2 separate regions of the Homo sapiens genome follow, and region 2 is linked to region 1. The links are contacts of gene promoters, found by promoter capture Hi-C in human tissues and cell types (Jung and others, 2019). All regions are on one chromosome and are shown on one strand. The core of a region is centred on a gene start or on the middle of the fragment in contact, and the rest is flanking DNA. Distances in the headings are between cores, read along the strand shown. Region 1 holds the start of JPH2 (junctophilin 2). Region 2 has its middle 7.2 kb from the start of LINC01260.

Evidence for each region. The method cuts DNA at HindIII sites, captures the fragments that hold promoters and counts their contacts. A contact is called where the count stands out against the background at its distance.
Region 2: a contact is called between a fragment that was not itself captured here and the fragment with the promoter of JPH2 in region 1, in 1 of the 25 tissues and cell types used here (thymus).

What each region holds. Positions count from the first base shown.
Region 1 is chr20:44,182,630-44,190,135 of GRCh38, forward strand. It overlaps JPH2 (junctophilin 2), which reads right to left and starts at 4,559. Exons shown (of 6, transcript NM_020433.5): 1 at 3,698-4,559. The coding sequence starts at 4,076. RefSeq lists an enhancer at 1-453. The HindIII fragment of the contact is 16,539 bases long and covers 1-7,506 here.
Region 2 is chr20:44,675,193-44,682,698 of GRCh38, forward strand. No RefSeq gene overlaps it. Among named protein-coding and RNA genes, the nearest start is that of LINC01260, 7.2 kb to the left of the region's middle. RefSeq lists enhancers at 2,775-3,275, 3,276-3,776. The HindIII fragment of the contact is 5,149 bases long and covers 2,271-7,419 here.

The DNA.
Region 1 (7,506 bases), core at 3,309-5,808:
CTGAGGGACCTACTTCCTCTACAGGCTCCTCCATCCTCCTTCTGAGACGACTCCATCTAAGAACACCTTCCTCTTCCGCCTCTGTTAGTTTTTTCCATAACACTTGTAACTTTTGGAGATTACATGTATGTTTGTTTTCTAGTTTATGTTTTTCCACTGGACAGGGAGCTCCTTGAGGACCTTGTCTTGCTCGCTGCCCCCACCCTAAAACTTGCTGTAAAGCAGTTCCTGGAACAGAGCAGGTGCTCAGTAGTACTGGTTGCATGAATGAATGAATGAATGAATAGGTTTTCCTCTTTTAGACACATTGGGAGATGGGCCTATGGTTTCCTATGCTCATTTTGACCCAGAGATTTGTGTCCTGTGACTCACATCCAGACCCAAAACACACACATACACACGCACACATAAATACACACACACACAGACACGTGCACACACAGACACACATGCACACACACATACACACACCTTGGTTTGAAGAGAAGAGGGATGGGAACAGACATTCTACGCATGCCTACAGTGCACCACTGTGCATAGGTAACTGATGCTGTATAAGCACTCAAGGATTATCTCCATTTTTAGCCAGAGAAACTGAGGCTTGCTTTCTGCTGTGTCTCCAGTGCCTAGCACTGTGCCTGGCATAAACATCTGCTGAACTGAATTGCACTAGATTCAAGAGGCTCAGAAAACAGTTCAAGGTCACCCAACTAGCAAGTTGTGGAGCCAGAATCTGTGCTCAGGGCTGTTCAGTCCCCAGCCAGTGCCGGGTAGCAGCCATAGGCACCTGCACAAACTCCAGCGACCTCGTTAACTTCCAAACACGGTCTCGAGGGCAGGCCCTCACCCAGACACCCACCAACTGGCAGCTCAGATGCAAATCTATCCTGCATCTGAGGCTGCTCTCAACATGCCCAGGGGCCTCGGCTTCAGCAAACCTTGCTCCCTGGGCTAGCTGATGCCTTTTCCTGCCCCAGCTACCCTGATCCCAGCCCCAGTCCCACACTTCCTGGCCACTGTCAAAAAGAGGAGACACTAGTGACGAATATAATGTCCTATGAATGCCTTCTGATGCCAAATGTCATTTGTAAAAATTAGCCAGTTTTGAGTTATCTGTGTCAGTTCCTCTTTCCAATGCAGCTCATTAGGAAGACTCCATGGAATTATCCTGCGTCAGAAAGAGTTTGAGTGATGATTCAAAACTGCAGCCAGCAAACTTTCGCTGGAAAGAGTCAGGTAGGGCGGGGTGTGATGGTTCACACCTGTAATCCCAGCACTTTGGGAGTCCAAGGCAGGTGGATCACTTGAGGTCAGGAGTTCAAGACCAGCCTGGCCAACGTGGCAAAATCCCATTTCTACCAAAAAATTAAAAAAAAAAAAATTAGCCAGGTGAGGTGGTGGGTGCCTGTCCCAGCTACTTGGGAGGCTGATGTAGGAGAATCACTTGAACCTGGAAGGCAGAGCTTGCAGTGAGCTGAGATTGTGCCACTGCACTCCAGCCTGGGCGACAGAGTAAGACCCTGTCTCAAAAAACAAACAAACAAAAGAAGTCAGATAGTAAATACTTTGGGTTTTGCAGGACAAGAAGCAAAATTGAGGATGTTACGTAGGGGCTTTCAAATAATTTCACATGTCAAAAAGTGTTCTTCTTCTTCTTCTTCTTCTTCTTTTTTTCCATCATTCTCAGCTTATAAGCTGTGCAGAACTGACAGCAGGCTAGTTCGGCCCACGACCTATGGTTTGCTAGGCCCTAATTTAAAGCAACTTTTTAAACTTTGATGTTATAAAAATTGCCTGATACACTTGTGAAAGCAGTGTTTGGACACACACTCAGAGATTCTGATGAGAAGGTCTGGGTGGGCCACTGAATTTGCATTTCTAACTGGTGGATCAATGGTGCTGATGCTGCCCGTCCACCGTCCACATTTTGAGCAGTACTGATATTCTAAAGTGTCCCTTTTCACAGATGAGGAAACTGGCTTAGCTAAGTGATATGTCCATGTACACCCTGTGGACTAGGTAATGACATCTGCTCTGCCACTCCACAGGGCTGTTTTGCCACAGAAAACTCCTCTCTGATTCTTTAACCCACTGCTACCCTCATGCTTCTGAGCCTTTGTCTTCACTCTTCTCTCTGCCCCATGCCCACCCTCACAAACGTAACTGTCCTGTCGAGACCAAGCTCAGGCGTCAGCTCCATTTAAAGTATTTCCTGACCTCCTCAAATCTAAATTCTCCTTTCTGCAACAGTATCTGTACATACTTGTGTATAATGTGTATAACTGTTTGTCTGCATGCCTATCTTTGTTTTTCGATTTTTCGTTTTGTAAAAATGGGGATCTTGCTAGATTGCCCAGGCTGGTGTTGAACTCCTGGCCTCAAGTGATCCTCCCACCACAGCTTCCCAAAGTGCTGAGATTACAGGCGTGAGCCACGGAGTCCAAGAATTGCTTGAGCCCAGGAGTTTGAGACCAGCCTGGGCCACATAGTAAGACCCCATCTCTACAAAAAAAGAAAAAACAATTAATTAGCTAGGCTTGGTGGCATGTGCCTTGTAGTTCCAGCTACTCAGGAGGCCAAGATGGGAGGATTGCTTGAGCCCAGGAGTTCAAGGTTGCAGTGAGCTGTGATTGTGCCACCGCACTTCAGCCTGAGCAACAAAGCAAGACCTATCTTTAAAAAATTTAAAAAAGGAAACACAAAAGGAATGTAGGCCCGGCACAGTGTCCCACACCTGTAATCCCAGCAATTTGGGAGGCCGAGACAGGCAGATTGCTTGAGCTCCGAAGTTTGAGACCAGTCTGGGCAATATGGAAAAGCCCTGTCTCTACAAAAAAAAAAATAATAATACAAAAATTAGCCAGGCATGGTGGTGCACACCTGTAGTCCCAATTACTAGGGAAGCTGAGGTTGGTGGACCACTTGATCCTGGGAGATCAAGGCTGCAAAGAGCCGAGATCATGCCACAACACTCCAGCCTGGGCAACAGAACGAGAACTTGTCTTGGAAAAAAAAAAAAAGAATCCATGGATGGATCATAGATGGATGGATGGATGGATGGATGGATGGATGGATGGAAAGATGGATGGGTGGATGGGCAGGTAGATGTATGAATGGCTGGATGGGTAGATGAATGGTTGGGTGGAAGCATGAATGCGTGGGTGGGTAGATGGATGGATGGGCAGGCAGGTGGGTGGATGGATGAATGGATGGATGGACGGGTGGGTGGATTGGTGTGTGGATAGATGATGAGTGGATAGTTGGATGGGTGGATGGATGGATGGGTGGGTGGATGAATACTCCTCATGATCTATTGCTTGAAAATAATTTTCATGGCAAAGTTAAGACTAGACCCTAATTCTGCTAGAGTATATTCCATGGCTGTTTATGTTGGGGCATACCGAACATGCTAATGGTAGTAGTTATATTTTATTGTGTGTTGAGTGTGCACTTACATGGCAGGCTTTGTACTAAGCACTGCCACTAATCCTCTCAATAACCCCTTTATTAGCTCCATCTTTACTACAAGAAAATGGAAGCTCAGAAAGGTAGAGCAGCTTGCCCAAAACCACACAGCAAATCACTTCCTAGCCCATCTGATTCTGTGCCAATTGCCGGTCGCCTTTCCCACCCTCCACCAGGGTTTCTCACCCTCCCTGGCTCCACCCCACCTCTGCGGGCCCCCAGCTGGCCTCACCTCCATCAGCATAGGTCTCGGTGCCATAGCCGTCTTGCAGGCCATTGTTCCAGGTGCCCTCATACTTGGCACCGCTGCTTGAGCTCTGCCGGATTCCGTAGCGTCCCTTGAAGCCATGTGTCCACTCGCCCTTGTAGAGCCAGCGCCCCTTGGTCTCTATGCCCAGCCCATGCCGTTTGCCCTGGCTCCAGTATCCCTCAAAGGTGTTTCCGCTGGGCCAGGTGTAGACACCTGCCACCTCAAAGCCAAAGTTCCAGGAGCCAGAGTATTCGCCCTGGCCCTTGGGGCCTGTGCACAGTCCATGCCCATGGGCCTTTCCCCCCTCCCAGCCCCCGCAGTACGCCCCTCCATCATCAAAGTCGAAGCGGCCCCCACTCATCTCATCATAGCCCCTGACAACCTCCCCGTCCTCCAGCGTGGGTGCAGAGGGCGTGGGTGATGCCTGCAACACTCCTCCAGTGCCCTCGGGGGCAGGCCCCCAGACTCACCACTGCACCCCAGGAGGGGGGAAGCAGGATGCCAGCAGAGGCTGAAAGAGCCCCGGCGCCAAGTCAGCACCGGGTCGGCTAGTCAGTGCCATGCCCGGGAGCCCCGACTCCACCAGCCAGAGCAAGGCTGCCTGCTGGAAAGAAAGCAGGAAGGAAAGGTTCAAAGTCCCCACAAAGCGTCCCAAGTCTGCCTTCCAAGAAGTCCAAGGGAAAACGGTGTGATCTCTTTAAGAAGCCCAGTGAAAGGGTGGGGTGGAGGGGTCCCCAGCCTTTTCAAAGAGGGGAAATTCCCCTCGGTGGCAGCCCCCGCCGGAGGCTGAATTCCCGCAGCCCGCTGGCCCCCTTCTCCACCCCAGTGGGTGTGCGGGGCTGTCGGTCTCCCCGCCGCTGCCCCGCCCCCTTCTCCAATCCTGCCCTCCTTCTGGGACGGAAAGGTCAGTGTTGCCCTAACAAGGCCATTGGATCTCAGAAGCTGCTCCCAAAATAACCCCCAGCCAGCCCAGCCTTCTTCAAAGCGGGAAGGAGGGGTATTTCAAATCGCGCCCGTGCCGCAGACCCGGGCAGTGGCTGGAGGCATGAGGAAGGAGGCTGAGAACTGAGTGCAGGCAGCCCAGGGAACCTGGTGTCTTTTCCTCCCGGGAATGAGAGCTCCCTTCCATTCTCAGAGTCCCCTGGGTCTGCGCGCAGGGAGGGCACCGGGGAATCGGGGAAGGGAGGGGAGAGGGAGACCAGCAGAACACCCAGTCCTGGAACACTGAAAATCCCCCAGAGCGAGGAGGTTGGCAGATCTCAGCCCCATCACCACTCACATGCCCTAAGGGGACCTGGGGTTACAGCACCACTGCCAGCCCCATCAAGGAATCCAGTGACCTAAAGAGAAAGGAATGGAGACAGTTTCACATGTGCTTCCGAAAGCAGAGGAGGGAAGTCAGAAAGAGAGGGGAGGCTGTGGAAACAGGGTCTGGAAGATACACAGAATCTCAGTCCAGTGCTCACTCACCACCCTGAGCTCCCTCCACCCCTGGAAGCCGGGGAGAACTTGGTGCAAGAAGCAACCATCTATTCCCTTTCTCTTTCTCCTGAAGGGCAAAGAGAAGGGAGAGGAGCCTGCCCTCCTCTCTGCCTGAGACACAGACTGGGCGTCCCGCTAGCTTCCTCTCCCCACCCCTTGATGCCTCGGCGCCCTCCCTGCCCCCTGCCGCAGACCCAGCAGACCCTGAAGGTCAAAGGAGTCCCCTTCCTGTCAACACAGGGTTGTGTTGTAATGAGGTCCTCTCAGAAATTCTCAAGGGTCATGATTTTTTAAAATTTCCCTTTCTGAGCTGTCTTTTGCTCTAGTGTCCTAGGAGCCTGTGAGGCCAGACTTCAGAAAGCTCTTGGGGCAGGGCCAGGAGAGAAGGGCCTGGGTGGATTCCCAGCCACTCAGGTTCCCACCAAACTCCAGTAAAAAGAACAAATAAATCTCCATGGCAAGAAGCTGTGGCCAGAGCTAATGATTGTAAATCCCAGCTAAGCCCAAGGTTAATGGGAGTATAGAGGAATTCTGGGAAAGGTAAGAGCCACCAAGACTAGGAAGATCTGTGTGTGTGTGTGTCTGTGCGTGTGTGTGAACGTGTGTCTGTGAGAGTGTGAGAGAGTGTGTGTGAGTGTATGTGAGTGTGTGTGGTAAGAGTGTGTGTGTTTGTGTGTGTGTGGTAAGTGTGTGTTTGTGTGAGTGTGTGTGGTAAGAGTGTGTGTGTTTGTATGTGTGTGTGGTAAGAGTGTGTGTGTTTCCATGTGTGAGTGTGTGTGTGTGAGTGTGTGTGTGAAGATGGGGACAGAAGAGAAAGAGAGAACTAAGCACAGAAGGTACTAGAGAACATTAGACAATTATCTGACTTTGAACTTATCTGACATATTTCCAAACCCCATGATAACTTAGGCCACGTGAAGTCACTGCGGAAGTCTTGTTCCTGTTTGGGGAGTGGGTAAAAAGTGTTCCCTGCTTTCCTTCCAGTGGGTTACCTGTTCTTAGGACTTGGTTCCATCCTTGGTCACAGCCGCTGACCTTCAAGAGCCCCTTCTATATCTGCGTTTCACCACCAGGTAGAGGCACCCAGCCTCTTGGGCTCACTGTCACCGTCTGTTTGCCAAGCTGACAGGGAGCACGTAGTGGATAAAAACTGTTTCCTCTGGGTGGTTAGGTGTGAGCCCTGGCCAGGCTGACTGACAGCCTGCTTGCACAATTCACTTCTAAGAACATCTCAGGGCTACTCCCAGGGAGTTCTGCTTTCGCCACTTCTCACTAGGTCTTTGGAGAATCACAAACTTCTTTCTAGCTCTGCTGTCAAGGGAAGAGCATCTCAAACTGGAAGCTAGGGGAGTTTGAGCTGCAGATTCAATACCGTAATCATATGTTTATGCCAGGCAGCCATTGCTACATCTTAGCAGGGTGTTCTACCTATGGGAATTTAACCACTGTTCATCCATAGCAGCTCCCTAGGGTAGCTGTCTACCCAGGGTTACTACACATAAGAATCACTTACAGACTTAAAAACATAAAGAGATCCGAGAGCCCCACCCGAGACCTACAGAATTAGATTGTCCTGGGAGAAGACTTGGGCAGTCGAATTCTTTTAAAAGCTCCTCAGATGAATCTGATTTTCATCTCTGGTTAAAAACACTGTAAGTGCTTGTTATAGTGGCTCACACCTGTAATCCCAGCACTTTGGGAGGCCAAGGCTGGAGGATTGCTTGAGCCCAGGTGTTTGAGACCAGCCTGGACAACACAGTGAGACCCCGCCTCTACAATTAAAAATTTTTTTTTTTAATTAGCCAGGTGTGGTGATACACATCTGTGGTCCCAGCTACATGGGAAGTTGAGGCAAGGAGGATCGCTGAGTCAAGGAGTTGGAGGCTGCAATGAGCCATATTTGTGCCACTGCACTCCAGCCTGGCAACCCTGTTTCAAAAAATAAATAAATAGATAGAAAACAACAACAACAACAAAACCAAGGTAAAATTTCAAATTAAGATACTGTTTAATAACATAAAAATTCATGAATCCATTTATTCATGAATCCAGTAGTTTTGGAGTTAGATATGTCTTCAAATCCCAGTCCTGCCCCTCACAAGCTGTGTGACCTTGGACCAATTGTTAATTTCTCTAAACTGCAAATTATTCATCTGTAAAAGTCCCTACCTCAGAGGATTATTGGTATCAAGAATAACAGTATCTACCTTATCTAACTGGGTGAGGATTACACAGTTAATACTGTAAAAAGGCTCAGAACACATTACACATATAATCAGTGTTAGCTCTTATGAGAGTTACTCTTACAT
Region 2 (7,506 bases), core at 3,595-6,094, 490 kb after region 1:
GGTCACTCCCACCTACTCTCCTGCTGAAACTTCCACCTATCAATATCTTCCCACACAAGGCAAATGGTTCTTGGACCAAGAAAAATATCTCCTTCCAGCCTCACAGGCCCATTCTATTCTGTCATCATTTCATAACCTCTTCCATGTAGGTTACAAGCCGCTAGCCCGACTCTTAGAACCTCTCATTTCCTTTCCATCATGGAAATCTATCCTCAAGGAAATCACTTCTCAGTGTTCCATCTGCTATTCTACTACTCCTCAGGGATTGTTCAGGCCCCCTCCCTTCCCTACACATCCAGCTTGGGGATTTGCCCCTGCCCAGGACTGGCAAATTGACTTTACTCACATGTCCCGAGTCAGGAAACTAAAATACCTCTTGGTCTAGGTAGACACTTTCACTGGATGGGTAGAGGCCTTTCCCACAGGGTCTGAGAAGGCCATCATGGTCATTTCTTCCCTTCTGTCAGACATAATTCCTCAGTTTGGCCTTCCCACCTCTATACAGTCTGATAACGGATTGGCCTTTATTAGTCAAATCACCCAAGCCGTTTCTCAGGCTCTTGGTATTCAGTAGAAACTTCATACCCCTTACCGTCCTCAATCTTCAGGAAAGATGGAACGGACTAATGGTCTTTTCAAGACACACCTCACCAAGCTCAGCCTCCAACTTAAAAAGGAGGACTCTGTCAAGGATACAGCCCAAAAACTCAACAACCAAGCAAGTAATTACGCTGAACAGCCTTGGGCACTCTCTAATTGGATGTCCTGGGTCCTCCCACTTCTTAGTCCTTTAATACCTATTTCTCTCCTTTTATTCAGACCTTGTGTCTTTCATTTAGTTTCTCAATTCACACAAAACCGCATCCAGGCCATCACCAATAATTCTGTATGACAAATGCTCCTTCTAACAACCCCACAATACCACCCCTTACCCCAAAATCTTTCTTCAGTTGAATCTCTCCCACTGTAGGTTCCCATGCTGCCCCAATCCCACTCGAAGCAGCCCTGAGAAACATTGCCCATTATCTCTCCATACCAGCCCCAAAATTTTTCGCCACTCCAACACTTCACCACTATTTTGTTTTGCTTTTCTTATTAATATAAGAAGACAGGAATGTCAGGCCTCTGAGCCCAAGCTAAGCCATCATATCCCCTGTGACCTGCCTGTATACATCCAGATGGCCTGAAGCAACTGAAGATCCACAAAAGAAGTGAAAATAGCCTTAACTGATGACTTTCCACCATTGTGATTTGTTTCTGCCCCACCCTAACTGATCAATGTATTTTATAATCTCCCCCACCCTTAAGAAGGTTCTTTGTAACCCCCCCCCCGACCCTTAAGAAGGTTCTTTGTAATTCTCCCCACCCTTGAGAATGTACTTTGTGAGATCCAACCCCTGCCTGCAAAACATTGCTCCTAACTCCACCGCCTATCCCAAAACCTATAAGAACTAATAATAAACCCACCACCCTTTGCTGACTCTCTTTTCGGACTCAGCCCGCCTGCACCCAGGTGAAATAAACAGCTTTGTTGCTCACACAAAGCCTGTTTGGTGGTCTCTTCACACAGACGCACGTGACATTTTGATTGTTTGGAAAATTCAGTCTCCTCTCTATGAAAGAGTAAAAGTTTGCTTTTTGAAATATTTGAATCATCACTTTGGCTAGATGAATGACTACAATTTTAAACTCACTTTGCCAACACACTGACATTGGCAGAGTGCAAAGATGGCAAGAGGCTGGGTCCATGGTGACACTGTTAGGGAAACAGGAGCATAACAGAGTCAGGGTGACACCATTTTAAAATCAATTGTGGCTGGGCACAGTGGCTCATGCCTGTAATCCCAGCACTTTGGGAGGCTGAGGTGGGCGGATCACCTGAGGTCAGGAGTTCAAAGCCAGCCTGGCCAACATGGAGAAACCCCATCTCTATTAAAAGTACAACAATTAGTTGGGCATGATGGTGGGCACCTGTAATCCCAGCTACTTGAGAGGCTGAGGCAGGAGAATTGCTTGAGCCCGGGAGGCAGAGTTTGCAGTGAGCTGAGATCGTGTCACTGCACTCCAGCTTGGGTGACAGTGTGACACTCTGTCTCAAAAAATAAAATAAAATAATAAAATAATAAAATCAACTGCATCTTCAAACTAGCAAGGCACATTCCTTGGCAGTCACAACTCATGGCCATGATATGTTTTGGGTGAAGGAAGCGATTTAGTAATGCCTGCAAGGGCAAACTCCTATGGTGGCAGGGTGTCCAGATATCCTAATAGCACATAACAATATCTGCTTTTGAGATAGGTAAAGTCATGCTTTGAAGTATTTCCTCACTAAAATACCAAGGATAATTTTATTTAAATCAACAAAGCACTAAATTTTCTTTTTTCTTTTTTGAGATGCTCACTCTGTCGCCCAGGCTGGAGTGCAGTGGCACGATCTCGGCTCACTGCAAGCTCCACCTCCTGGGTTCACGCCATTCTCCTGCTTCAGCCTCCCAAGTAGCTGGGACTATAGGCGCCTGACACCATGCCTGGCTAATTTTTTGTATTTTTAGTAGAGACGGGGTTTCACCATGTTAGCCAGGATGGTCTTGATCTCCTGACCTCGTGATCCACCCGCCTTGGCCTCCCAAAGTGCTGGGATTACAGGTGTGAGCCACCACACCCGGCCTAAATTTTCTTTAAAAAAAAAAAATTATTGTATTTATGGCTGGGCACTGTGGCTCATGCCTGTAATTTTAGCACTTTGGGAGACTGAGGCAGGCGGATCACTTGAGGCCAGGAGTTTGAGACCAGCCTGGGCAACATGGCAAAATCCCATCCCTAATAAAAATACAAAAAAAAATTAGCTGAGCATGGTGGCACATGCCTGTAGTCCCAGCTACTTGGGAGGCTGAGGTGGGAGGATCACTTGAACCCGGGAGGCAGAGGTTGCAGTGAGCCAAGGTCGTGCCACTACTCTCCAGCCTGCACAACAGAAAGGACTCCATCTCCAAAAAAAAAAAAAAAAAAAGTATTTATTTATTTTTCATTTATTCCAGGCAGAAGAAACAGCAAATGCATAGGTCCTGAGGCAGGCATGCATTTGGCATGTTGGAAAACATGTGGCACTGGCCAGACCAAGCAAGGCCTTGGAGAACATGAAGAGCAGTCTGGCTTTTGCTCCAGTTGCCACAGAAGTCACTGGAAGAGGCCTCCTCTGAGATAAGACACTAAGAAAGCAGTGTCAGGCCAGTTAGACAGGTCTGGACTTGTCTTCTGGAGTCAAATGCAGGCGGCAGACATTTAAATGGCCAGTCACAGAGAGGGTGATGGGGGCCATGATGGGTGACCCACAGGGCCGTGAGAGCACAGAGGAGGGACCCTGCCCCATCCTGAGGGCCCAAGGGTCCTTCCCAGGGGAAGAGAGAGCTCAGCTGAGACCTGAAGGCTGCAGCAGAGTTAGCCAGCTTGAAAGAGAACGACAAGGGATGGGATGGGAAGTGGATTCCAGGCAGAGGAAGAAGCAACTGCAAACGCCTGAGAAGAGAAAGCCTGGAGCATTTGGGGGACCAGAAGGGGGTTAATGTGGCTGGATTGTAGATGCAAACAGGGGTTGGCCTGGGGGGCAGGCGGCAGCGGCTAGGAGGGCTCTGCTTTTCTCACTTGATATACTGTGAACATTTTTCTATGTCAGAAAGGATCCTTCTGCTATAGGATTTTTAAGGGCTGAGCATTACGTCGTGGAATAACTGGTTCTCCAGTGTCAGACATTTAGGTTCTTTCTAGTTTTTCCCTCTTAGAAACAATGCTATGTTGAACATCTTTGTCTGTGCATCTTTGTGCACACGTATTATTATTTCTGTGCGGTAAAGTTGGGAAGTCTCGGAGGCTACTTGGTGGACAGGATTGAGAGCTGCCTTGGAGAGGCCTGAGTCAGATCTGTTTGCCAGATCAGCCTCCACTGGGTTTCTACTGGAGGGGCCATACACAGGGAGATGCAGGGAGAAGGCCTGAGGGAGAGATAGAGAGCCCTGATTGTGAGCTGTGGCTGCCCAGGCCAGATAATGGCAGGGGAGAGAGGAGGCCCCGATCCTGGGCCCCTGTCTGTGCTGTCGGCCTGGTGCGTTAGCTCCTGGTGCCTTCTAAAGAGGCAACAAAAGTACTTCAAATTGAGCATGAGCTTGGGTTCAAATCACACCTCTACCGCTAAAAAACTAAGTGCCGTTGGGCCAGTTACTTAGTCATTCTGAATCTCAGCGTCCTTATCTGTAAAATGGGGAAAATAAGCCAATAGGGTTATTGTGAAAGATACATGAGATTAATGAGTCTTGGCGATAGTCCCTGCTCCCAGTAAATGACGGCGTGCATTTTTATTGTCATCTTGGGTCTCCATCCTTTTTAAAAAAATACTTGATTATAACAGCTTTATTGAGATAAAATTCACATGCCATACAATTCACCCATTTAAAGTGTACAATTCAGGCAGGGTGTGGTGGCTCATGCCTGTAATCCTGGCACTTTGGGAGGCCGAGGCGGGCAGATCACTTGAGGTCAGGAGTTCGAGACCAGCCTGGCCAACATGGTGAAACCCCATCTCTACAAAAAATACACAAATTAGCTGGGCATGGTGGTGGGCGCCTGTAATCCCAGCTACTCGGGAGACTGCGGCAGGAGGATCGCTTGAACCCGGGAGATGGAGGTTGCAGTGAGCCAAGGTCATGCCACTACACTCTAGCCTGGGCAACAGAGCAAGACTCTGTCTCAAAAACAACAACAACAGATAAAGTGTACAATTCAATAGTTTTTTATATATTTGTCACAATCAATTTTGGCACTTTTTCATTATCCCCCACAGAAACCCTGTACCTATCAGCAGTCAGTCCTGCAGCCGACCCCCCTCTGGCCCCAGGTAACTGCCAATTACTTTCTGTCTCTATGGATTTGCTCTTTCTAGATGTTTCATAGAAAAGAAGTCATGCAACATGGGGTCTTTTTTTTTTTCTTTTGAGACAGGGTCTCCTTCTCTTGCCCAGGCTGGAGTGCAACAGTGCAATCACAGCTCACTGCAGCCTCGAACTCCAGGGCTCACATGACCCTCCCTGCTCAGCCTCCCAAGTAGCTGGGACCACAGTGCACCGCCATGCCCAGCAAATTTTTAAAAAATTGTTTGTAGAGATGGGTTCTCCCTATGTTGCCCAGGCTAGTCTAGAACTCCTGGGCTCAAGTGATCCTCCCACCCTGGCCTCCCAAAGTGCTGGGATTACAGGCATGAGCCAGTGCGTCCAGGCCTGTGGTCTTTTATGACTGGCTTTGTTCACTTTTTTCATCCCTGTCAGCAATGTATGAGAGTTCTGATTTCTCTGATTCCTTACCAACACTTATTATTGTTTGTCTTTTTTATTGTAGCCATCCTCGTGGGGGTGTGTAGTGGGATCTCATTGTGGCTTTGATTTGCATGGCCTTGACGGTTAATGTTTCTGGTTTTTTTCAGTGGAATCCCCTTTATAAATTCTGGGACACCCTATTCCCAGTGTGGAAACACTAACCTGTTCCAAAGAAAGAAAAAAAATTCTAGATGGAAAAAGATGTTCATTACTGCGACATAACATTTCTTAATACAAGTGACTCGTCTATAGCAGTAGGTAGTTCCTAATTTTTTTTTTTTTTTGAGACAGAGTCTTACTTTGTCACAGGCTGGAGTGCAGTGGCATGATCTCAGCTCACTGCAACCTCTGCCTCCCGGGTTCAAGTGATTCTCCTCCCTCAGCCTCCCAAGTAGCTGGGACTACAGGAACATACCACCACTCCCGGCTAATTTTTGTATTTTTAGTAGAGATGGGGTTTCACAATGTGGAAACACTAGGCCACATTGTGAAATGTGGCCAGGATGGCCTCCATCTCCTGACCTCATGATCTGCCCACCTCGGCCTCCCAAAGTGCTGGGATTACAGGCGTGAGCCACCGCGCCTGGCCTATTATCTTTAATAATTATAAATACTGGGCTGGGCGTGGTGGCTCATGCCTGTAATCTCAGCACTTTGGGAAGCCAAGGTGGGCAGATCACTGGAGGTCAGGAGTTCAAGACCAGCCTGGCCAACATGGTGAAAACTCATCTCTATTAAAAATACAAAAATTACCCTGTCATGGTGGTGCATGCCTGTAATCCCAGCTACTCAGAAGGCTTAGGCAGGACAATCGCTTAAACCTGGGAGGCGGAGGTTGCAGTGAGCCGAGATTGAGCCACTGCACTCCGGCCCAGGCGAGAGAGTCAGACTCCATCTCAAAATAATAATAATAATTATAATAACTATAAAGACCAGCTATCATATGGAAAATGTCCCTGATGTGTGAACAAATGCAGGATGGAAAAATACTCAGTGTAGTCATTTTAGCTAATATATATTTGTTAAAACATCCAAATATTTTTTTCGAGCTCGGCGCTGTGTGCCAAGCTCCATGCTGGCTCATGGACAAAGTCAGGAAAAGAACAAGCAAAAATGAAATTCCTTCTTGTGTCGGGAGTGGTGGGGTTTTGGGGGACAGGTATCTCCCCTTCCCCATGTTTTCTTCTCAAACTTCCTCCACTGTTGTTATATTACCTTTGCAGTGATAAAACCAAGAGAACAGAAGAAATACTTCTGGACCTAAGGATGAAAGAATGATGGGAGAAACATTTCTTGAGCCAGTCCCTTTCTGCGTTCTTATTTTGTGGAATCCGCACACATCCCCGAGAAGCTTAATAAAAAGGGCTACTATCATGACACTTACTGTGTGCCTTGCCGGTTCCACCTGTTAGGTGCCATTGTTGTCCCCATTTTACAGATGAGGAAACTGAGGCGGGGCAAGGAGATGCCCTTCTGCTTGGTGGTCTATCCTTCAGCATTACCCACACACATGCAGAGCTACATATAAGCTCACGTTCACACTCGGATTCACGTCTGCACCCATGGGCACATGGAGGATCGCACAAGCCACACTCAGACACACATGTGTGCTCACACACAGGGCTGCCCATGTCCACAGGTATGTGCATGGGGACACGCATGTATATATGTGCATATTCCCATATGCACACAGCACAGGTCAAACACTTTTGGACACACATCTGCCTGAGAATGGGAAAAGGGGTGCAAGATAAAGGGGCAAAGTCTGGCTTTTGCCTCCTCCCTGCACCTGCTACCAGCTGTGTGCAGGACTGGGTGGGGCAGAAATAGGTGGCTCTGAGCTCAGAGGGCAGAGGTGGCCTTGCACTAGAAATCCACCTGCCAAACTTCCAAATGGGCTACAGCGACTAAGGGGCCTCACCTGCTGGGCAAATCCCCCAGCTGGAGGGTGTGCTCCAGATCCTCCAGGGGTCCCCAGGGGGTTGAGAAGATGAGGGGCACACCCAGCAGCCCCTAAGGGAGGAAGCGTGGCCATACTGGCTAAGGGGGCGCACTCTTCTTGCAGGCCGCCTGATCAGATGCCTGTAAAATAAGACAGCTTTACAAAGAGGGTGTCGGAATGTGAGGAGGCAGAGGGACAGGC